Regions from separate parts of the Homo sapiens genome. Here region 2 is linked to region 1. The links are contacts of gene promoters, found by promoter capture Hi-C in blood cells and fetal thymus (Javierre and others, 2016). All regions are on one chromosome and are shown on one strand. Each heading gives the region's core, a stretch centred on a gene start or on the middle of the fragment in contact. The rest is flanking DNA. Distances are from core to core; before and after follow the strand shown.

The links. Contacts are between HindIII fragments. The CHiCAGO score rates a contact against its expected background, and 5 or more counts as called.
Region 2: a contact is called between the fragment with the promoter of RGL3 here and the fragment with the promoter of ELAVL3 in region 1, in 1 of 17 cell types (erythroblasts). The highest score is 5.3, in erythroblasts.

Annotation. Positions count from the first base shown.
Region 1 is chr19:11,478,742-11,482,689 of GRCh38, reverse strand. It overlaps ELAVL3 (ELAV like RNA binding protein 3), which reads left to right and starts at 1,644. Exons shown (of 7, transcript NM_001420.4): 1 at 1,644-2,090. The coding sequence starts at 2,082. RefSeq lists silencers at 1-277, 308-557, 2,932-3,126. The HindIII fragment of the contact is 20,383 bases long and covers 1-3,948 here.
Region 2 is chr19:11,416,894-11,420,841 of GRCh38, reverse strand. It overlaps RGL3 (ral guanine nucleotide dissociation stimulator like 3), which reads left to right and starts at 1,528. Exons shown (of 19, transcript NM_001035223.4): 1 at 1,528-1,596; 2 at 2,058-2,171; 3 at 3,783-3,948. The coding sequence starts at 1,564. It overlaps ODAD3 (outer dynein arm docking complex subunit 3), which reads left to right. Exons shown (of 13, transcript NM_145045.5): 13 at 1-237. The coding sequence ends at 7. The HindIII fragment of the contact is 8,157 bases long and covers 1-3,948 here.

The sequences.
Region 1 (3,948 bases), core at 395-2,894:
GGGAGCCCTGTGGCGCCACGCGCAGATTGGCCCCGCCGGTTCCTCACCAGTTCGGGGGATGAGGCGGGGCCCCAGCTATGCCTCAGTTCCTGCTGCGGACCGGGGGGCTACCCCAGCCGGGGACAGAAGAATCGGCAAGGATGAGCGAGTCCGGCCGCTGGGGCCGCCCCCGCGAGCTCCCTCCCCCCGCGAGGCAGGTCCCCTCCACTCTCCCCGCACTGCCGGAGCCGGCAGGTTTCCATGGGAACCGCAGCGGGGTCCGCGCGCCCAGGAGCAGCCCCCCTCCTAGCTCAGTTTCCGATGACGGAAACCGGGAGGAACACGGGGTGGGGAACAGACCATCGCTTGGGGCCCCTAGCGCCCGCAGCCAGGTCGCCCCGGCGAGCCCAAGAGGGGCCACCCGGGGATCTGCACCGCCACCGCCCCTATTGCGCGGGCCACTGCGATTGGCCTGCCCTTTCCAGGCGTGGCAGCATCCCCTGGTGCGCGCACTCCCATTGGCTCGATCTCTAGGGCATCTTCCAGTAACTGGTTATCTCAAGGGCCGCCCCTGATTGGGCAAATTAGGCTCTCCTCGCTGGTGGCGCTCTCTGACAGTCTGGAGCCTAAAGGGCGTGCAGGAACGAGGATTGGGTGGGGACTGCCGCTCTCCAGTTAGGGGGTCTGGGCTACCTCGCCGGCAGCGCCCTCGACCGGACTGTCGGATTGCTGTCTGTGGTGCTGAAGCCTCACGCCCTGGCGACCCCGCCCCAGTGTGTGCTAGTTCCCGCGCCCCGACGTAAACATGCACCGGCGCCCGCGCACCAAAGGAGGCTGCGCCACCCCCAACGCCTTAGAGAGAGGCCAGGTTCCCCCTAGCAGAGAGCGAGCATGACTCCACAGTCAGGAGGACCAATCACGAGCCTAGAAAGCCAGGACATTTATGTGGCAGATCCACCCACCCCAGTTCTGTGGGGTCCAAGAAGGATCCGTGGTTTCCCAGAGCTGCATGGCTCCAGCGATGATTGTCCAGAACACTGAGCCCCAAACCTTTTCACCCCCTTCGGAGCAGTGCGGAGTTTCCTTGCACTGGGGAGTGCCAGTCCTTACCTTTTGAACCCTAGAAGGATCCAGCTCACTCAAAACCAACAGCGTCCCAGTCTCCTTCTGCAGAAGACTAGGGCCACAGTAGCCACCCTCCCCCGTGGTCTTGAGGTGGTCTACACTGGTGCCTCCAAATCTGGGGACCCAGGCCTCTGCCTACTAAAATATTGGTTCCTGATCCCCTGTCCAGTTCCCTCAGTGGACAACACCTCTGGAAGGTCGCATATTCAGGCCACTAATACCTCCTCGCTCTGTTGGCTCCTCCAGCTCTAGGAGCTGGACGGAGGAGGGGAGCCCGTCTCCTGGCCCGAAAGCCAGCCCAAGAAGGGGTGCCAGGGTAGGAAGCAAGGGCCTCGAGGGAAGGAGGGCCCAAATCTGGCAACCCGAGCACCTAGGATGCGCTTTTGGGGGATTCAGAGTCCCGACCAGTGCGCGCTCACTTCCACCTGCCGCGCCGTCGGGAGCCGCGAGGAGGCGGAGCTCGGTCGCCGCAGCCAATGAGCGACGCCGGCGCTGGCAGCTGCTGCTATAAAGGGCTGGGGGCGGCGGCGGCGCGGTCCAGAGCGCGGAGCGCGCAGCGCGGGCCGGAGGGAGGGAGGGAGGGTGGGCGAGGGGAGAGGACTTGAACACACGGGACCGGACAGGACCGACCGAGGGGCGGCGGCGAAAGGCAGAGCGCCGCGATCTCTGTCGGGAAGCGCAACCTCCCCGGGCCCCGCGGGGCCGCGCAGGGGGCGTCCTCAACCCCGCGCCCGCTCCCTCTTTCCATCCCCTGCCGCCCGCAGGCCACCCCGGGGCCCGGCCATCCGCGCGCGCATCCCCGGGTTCGGGCCCGTCCCTGGCCCTCGAGGGAGCCGCCGCCTTCATCGCCACATCTGCAGCGGCCGCACCAGAGGCCGCCCGGGCGGGACCCCAGCGTGAGCATCGGGCGCCCCCCTAGGAGTGCACCACCCCCGGAGCCCCCCTCAACACGGACCGCGCCCGCCGGGCACACAAGAATGGTCACTGTAGGTATTCCCCTGTCGCCGAAAGGGAATCGGGACGGGGAGGAGTTGGGCCCAGGCTCCGCGGAGATTGGGCGGGTGCGGCGGGGGGGGTAGGACCAGGCCTAGCTAGGCCCGGGTTGGGGGGGTAGGACCAAGCCTCGGGGCCTGAGAGTGGGCAGGGCCGCGCCCAGAGTGCTGAGGGCGCTTAGAGCTTGGTCTGAGAGGGCCTTAGGGAGACTGACTGCGATTCGGGAGGCGTCCGACGCCGCCCTGGAGGCGGGATTGCCCCCTCTCCAGCAGGCCTGATGGGGGAGGGGCCGCGGCGGCTAAGGATGCTTCCTCCATCCAGGCCCAGACCCCGCAGGCCGCCCAGGCAAACGCAGGGCCCGATCACTGGTGCTGGGCCAAGCCAAAGCGACAAAGCGTCCCCGAGAGCCCTGGGAAAGCGGGTGGCGTCGGATCGCGCGCCCCGGGCCTCGGCCGCACCCGGGAGGCGGGCGTCTCGTCCTCGAGCCCGTCGACCTTGCGGCAAGCGGGGAGGGGAGAGGAGGGGGCGCGCCCGGAGGCCCCGCGGGCCCGCCGCCGCTGCTGCCGCGTCCCTTTGTTTCTCGGCGCTTCTTCGCGGGCCGCAGCCTCGCGCGGGCGCCTCGGGCTGCGGGGAGGGGGAGGGGAGAGGAGGGCCCGCGGGTTGGGGGGGCACCTCTGGGCTCCCGGGTCTCCGCCCCCCGGGAGATGGGGTGGGAGGCCGAGACAGCCCCCTTAGGCCAGGTCCAGGCTCCCCACCTCGCCAAGGCTCTGGGCCGCGAGGTGACCTTGAGCGCGGCCCGCCCGCCTGCTCGCCCGCACCGCTAGCCCCGCGCTCGGTGCTTTCAGCAGCCACGGAGCTGGTCAGCTCCCGAGCGCGCAGCCCCTCCCGCCCTGCCACGCCCTGCCTGGCCACGCCCGGGCACGCCCATCTAGGCCCCGCCCCCAGGGCCCCGGGGGCCCGGCCTCGCCCGAGCCCTCGGATTCCCACTCGGCAGCCCGGGCGTATCCCGGGGGCGGGGCTGGCCAGTTATAGCCCCACCCCGGCTCCACCCCCGCCCCTGCCGCGCGACTCCGCTCCCCGCGCCGCCGCGCGTCCTTTGTCTGGTCCCGGCGCCTGGGCCTCCCTCTTCCACTCTTCCTATCTCTCCGTCTCTGCGTGTGTGTCTCTGTGCATTGTGTCTCTTTCCGGGCCCCTTTTTCGAGTCGTGGCTAGCACTGGGGGTGGGGGCATGATTGGCGCTCCCTCCATGCCTAAGCCTCTCCCCTCCTGGACCCTGGGACCCGCCCACCTGGCTCTGAGAAATGAGGTCCCGGAGGCCTGGCTCACCTGCTGTGTGACCTCAGGCCGTTCCTTTCCCTCTCTGGGCCTCGTGCTGTTCACCCAGGTCTGGGAACTGGAGTGTGGCCTCCTGAGGACCTCAGAACTCCCGCAACAGTCCAGCATCTCCTAAGCGTCCTCTGATCGGTTCTCTCATTTGAAAAAGGAAACTAATGCACAAAGGGAAAGAGGGTGTGGTCAGAGGTCACACAAGGGCCTTGAGGACCTAGGTTCTCCAGTGAGCGAGCCCTGGGGCAGAGATGTATCATGGGGACAGGCTGGGAGGAAGAGAGGTGACAAATTAAGACCAGGAGGACCCTGCATTGAAGAAGGGCCCAGAAGTAGGAGGCTCAGTCAGCACCACGTGGTAGCCCAGCCTCACCATGCATAGCCACTCAATGCCCTATTGTCGCCGGTATCCAGGCATCTGTCACTGTGACTGGGGCCAGGGGCCGCAGCTGGGGGCCGTGGGGGTCAGACACAGGAGGTTTTAAGAAAAAAGTGGCCTCAGGTGTGTTCACTGCAAAACCCATA
Region 2 (3,948 bases), core at 279-2,778, 62 kb after region 1:
GTCCTAGACTCGTCCTGACACCCACCAGGCGGCCCCCTTCGGAGCCCCCGATCCCTCCGGGTCTAGCGCAGGCCCCACGGGGCCCCTTCAGGGGCTGAACGCGGCCCGGACCGGGAACGGAGGCGGCCAGCGGCGCCCGGAGGGGAGGAAGGGGCCGGGCCAGACGTTCCCACAGTAAATCTCCCCAGCTGGGTCCGCCCCGGCCTCAGAGTTGCGCAATAAATGTTACCGACCATGCCCCTGGGTATTCATCTGTTTTTGACCCTGCACCACCCAAGAGACGGCTGTCCCTGAAAACCCAGGGCCACAGACTGCCTCCTCCAACCTGGGTCATGATGACTCCCATCAGCTAGTGACGCAGATGGAGCTTAAAAATGGGAGATGGCCCGATGTAGTGGTTTTATGCCTGTAATCCCAGTATTTTGGGAGGCTGAGTTGGGAGGATCACTTGAGTCCAGGAGCTCCAGGCTGCAGTGAGCTATGATCGTGCTACTGCACTCCAGCCTGGGCCACAGAGCCAGACCCTGTCTCAATAAATAAAATAAGGGCGGGGTGCAGTGGCTCATTCATACCTATATTCCCAGCACTTTGGGAGGCTGAGCTGGGTGTGTCGCTTGAGCCCAGGGGTTCCAGACTAGCCTGGGCAACATGGTGAAAACCAGTTTTTACCAAAAAAAAAAAAAAAAAAAAAAAAAAAAAAAAAAAAGCTGAGCATGGTGGCATATGCCTGTAGTCCCAGCTACTTGGGAGACTGAGGCAGGAGAATGGATTGAACCCAGGAGGCGGAGATTGCAGTGAGCCAAGATCAAGCCACTGCACTGCAGCCTTGGCAACAGGAGTGAGACCCTGTCTCTAAAAAATAATAAGGCTGGGCGCCGTGGTTCATGCCTGTAATCCCAGCATTTTGGGAGGCTGAGGTGGGCGAATCTCTTGAGGCCAGGAGTTTGAGACCAGCCTGGCAAGTATGGCAAAACCCCGCCTCTACAAAAAATACAAAAATTAGCTGAGCATGGTGGCGGCACCTGTAATCCTAGCTACTTGGGAGGCTGAGGCACAAGAATCCTTTGAATCTGGGAGGCGGAGGTTGCAGTGAGTTAAGATCAAGCCACTGTACTCCAGCATGGGTGACAGAACGAGACTCCATCTCAAAATAATAGCAATAATAATAAAAAGTGGAAGATGCCCCCACACTTGATCAAGCTAGCCCCTTCCACTGGAGGACAGAGGACTCTGGTCTGGGGACACACACATGCCCCCACACAGGAGCTCCCCCACATCTGGGGATACAAAAAAGACCCCTTGGGGACAGATATGTCCTTTCTTCTGGGGACAGATTGATAGGCACCCAGCGGAAGAGCCAGGACCTCTCCTGGGCTGGCGCTGGGTCCGGCTGGAGGCACCCAGAGGCTGGGTCCGGCCTGCCCTGCCCCGCCCCGCCCCAGCAGCTCGGCCGCTCCGCCCCTCTGGCCTCAGCGCCCGGCCACTGCCCGCCGCCCGCCACCCGCCACCCGCCGGCCCTTCCGCCTCACTCAGCGGCGCCACTGAGAGGGACGGGCGCCGGCCATGGAGCGCACAGCAGGCAAAGAGCTGGCCCTGGTAAGGGGACAAGGGATCCCCGGACCCCGCATCCCTGGTGACCCGCAGGTCCAGAAACTCCAAGCGCCCGCCCGTCGGACGGTATCTGCTCCCAATCTGAACTTGCCCTGGAGTCCCCTCCTGGGGACTCGCGGCCCTTGACCCAGTGAAGCGACTGGTTCCTCTTAGGGATGGGGGCGCGAGTCTCTGAGCGCAGTCGGCAGAAAGAGCTAGAGACAGGTTCTATTAGACTGGGCCCTGGGACATCCCCAAATGCCACCCCATGTCCTCAGGACCTGGGAGGAGGGGACCCGCAGCGAGGAGGGGACTAGCCTGGGACCCCAGCCCTAGTCTCGCAGCTTCTGGCCGGGAAGGGGCGTGGGGATGCAGCAGGAGGACTCGGCCCGAGTCCGAGCGGCCAAGGAGGCTGAGGCCCCAGGACCTGTGCCCCTTTGGTGCCCTGAGTCCGCCTGTGCGTCCAGGCACCGCTGCAGGACTGGGGTGAAGAGACCGAGGACGGCGCGGTGTACAGTGTCTCCCTGCGGCGGCAGCGCAGTCAGCGCAGGAGCCCGGCGGAGGGCCCCGGGGGCAGCCAGGTGAGGAGGGGGTTTGGTGGGTGGCGCGGGGCCGGAAGCGACCAGTTGAGGGCGGAGCTGGAGAGCCGAGCACAGGCCGCCAGGTGCAGTGGGCGGAAGGAAGGGAGGGGCTCGGAGGCGACCAGATGAGGCGACCAGGTAGAAAGGGGACTGGGGGCGGCCAGGTAAGTGGGGGGAGATCCAGGGAATGGGGTGGGGCCAGGCGATGGCCGCGCAGTTCCCGAGAGGAGCCTAGGGACAACTTGGTAAGGACAGAACTGGACGGCAGAGTTGGGAAAGGCAGGTTTAGAGGGCCGGGGCTGGAAGGTGGAATGGGGTTGGTTTAGAAGTGGCTAGGTGAGGGCGGATGGGGCAGCCAGTGAAGCGCGACAGGAGGGCTGAGGGAAGCCCTGGGTGGAAAAGAGTGTGTGGGGCGGGGGCGGGGGGGTGGGGGGAGGGGACGGGAGGGGGAGGGGACGGGAGAGGGAGTAGGGGACAGGGCATGGGAGAGGGAGGGTTTCCAGGGCAAGTTGCAGGAGCTATTTGTGGATGGGGAGGAACAATAACTTCAAGCGGGCAGGGAGTGGGGCACACACCTATAATCCCTGCGCTTCGAGAGACCAAGGCAGAAGGCCAGGAATTGGAGACCAGCCTGGACAACACAGCAAGATTCTCTCTAATAAAAATAAAAATTAAAAAACTAGCTGTGCGTGATGATGCCCAGCAGTGGTCCCAGCTACTCAGGAGGCTGGGGCAGAGGGACCGCTTGAGTCTAGGACTTGGAGGCTGCAGTGAGCTATGATTGTGCCACTGCACCCCAGCCTGGGCAACAAAACAAGACCTGTTTCTAAAAAAAACAAACCAAAACAATAACTCCAAGAAGCCGGGAGACAGAGGAATCACATGAAAGAATGGTGCTACAGGCGGGGCGAGGTGGCTCACGCCTGTAATCCCAGCACTTTGGGAGGCCGAGGCAAGTGGATCATCAGGTCAGGAGTTCAAGACCAACCTGGCCAAGACGGTGAAACACCGTCTCTACTAAAAATACGAAAAAACTAGCTGGGCTTGGTGGCGGGTGCCTGTAATCCCAGATACTTGGGAGGCTGAGGCAGAGAATTGCTTGAACCCAGGAGGCGGAGGTTGCAGTGAGCCAAGATCACGCCACTGAACTCCAGCCTAGGTGACAGAGTGAGATTCTGTCTCAAAAAAAAAAAAAAAAAAGTGGTGCTAGGGGCTGGGCACGGTGGTTCACGCCTGTAATCCTAGCCCTTTGGGAGACTTTGGGAGGCCAAGGGGGGCAGATTACTTGAGGTCAGGAGTTCGAGACCAGTCTGACCAACATGGTGAAACCCTATCTCTACAAAAATACAAAAATTAGCTGGGCTTGGTGGTGTGCGCCTGTAGTTTCAGCTACTTGGAGGCTGAGGAAGGAGGATTGCTTGAACCCAGGAGGCAGAAGTTGAAGTGACCCAAGATCGTGCCACTGCACTCCAGCCTGGGCAACAGAGTGAGACTCTGTCTCAAAAAAAAAAACAAAAAAAAAAAGAGTGGTGCTAGTGATGAATGTGACTAGAGAAGGGGTGCTGTGAGGACCACTCCTGCTCTCTCATGGCCACCTCTCCCCTCCTGCAGGCTCCCAGCCCCATTGCCAATACCTTCCTCCACTATCGAACCAGCAAGGTGAGGGTGCTGAGGGCAGCGCGCCTGGAGCGGCTGGTGGGAGAGTTGGTGTTTGGAGACCGTGAGCAGGACCCCAGCTTCATGCCCGCCTTCCTGGCCACCTACCGGACCTTTGTAC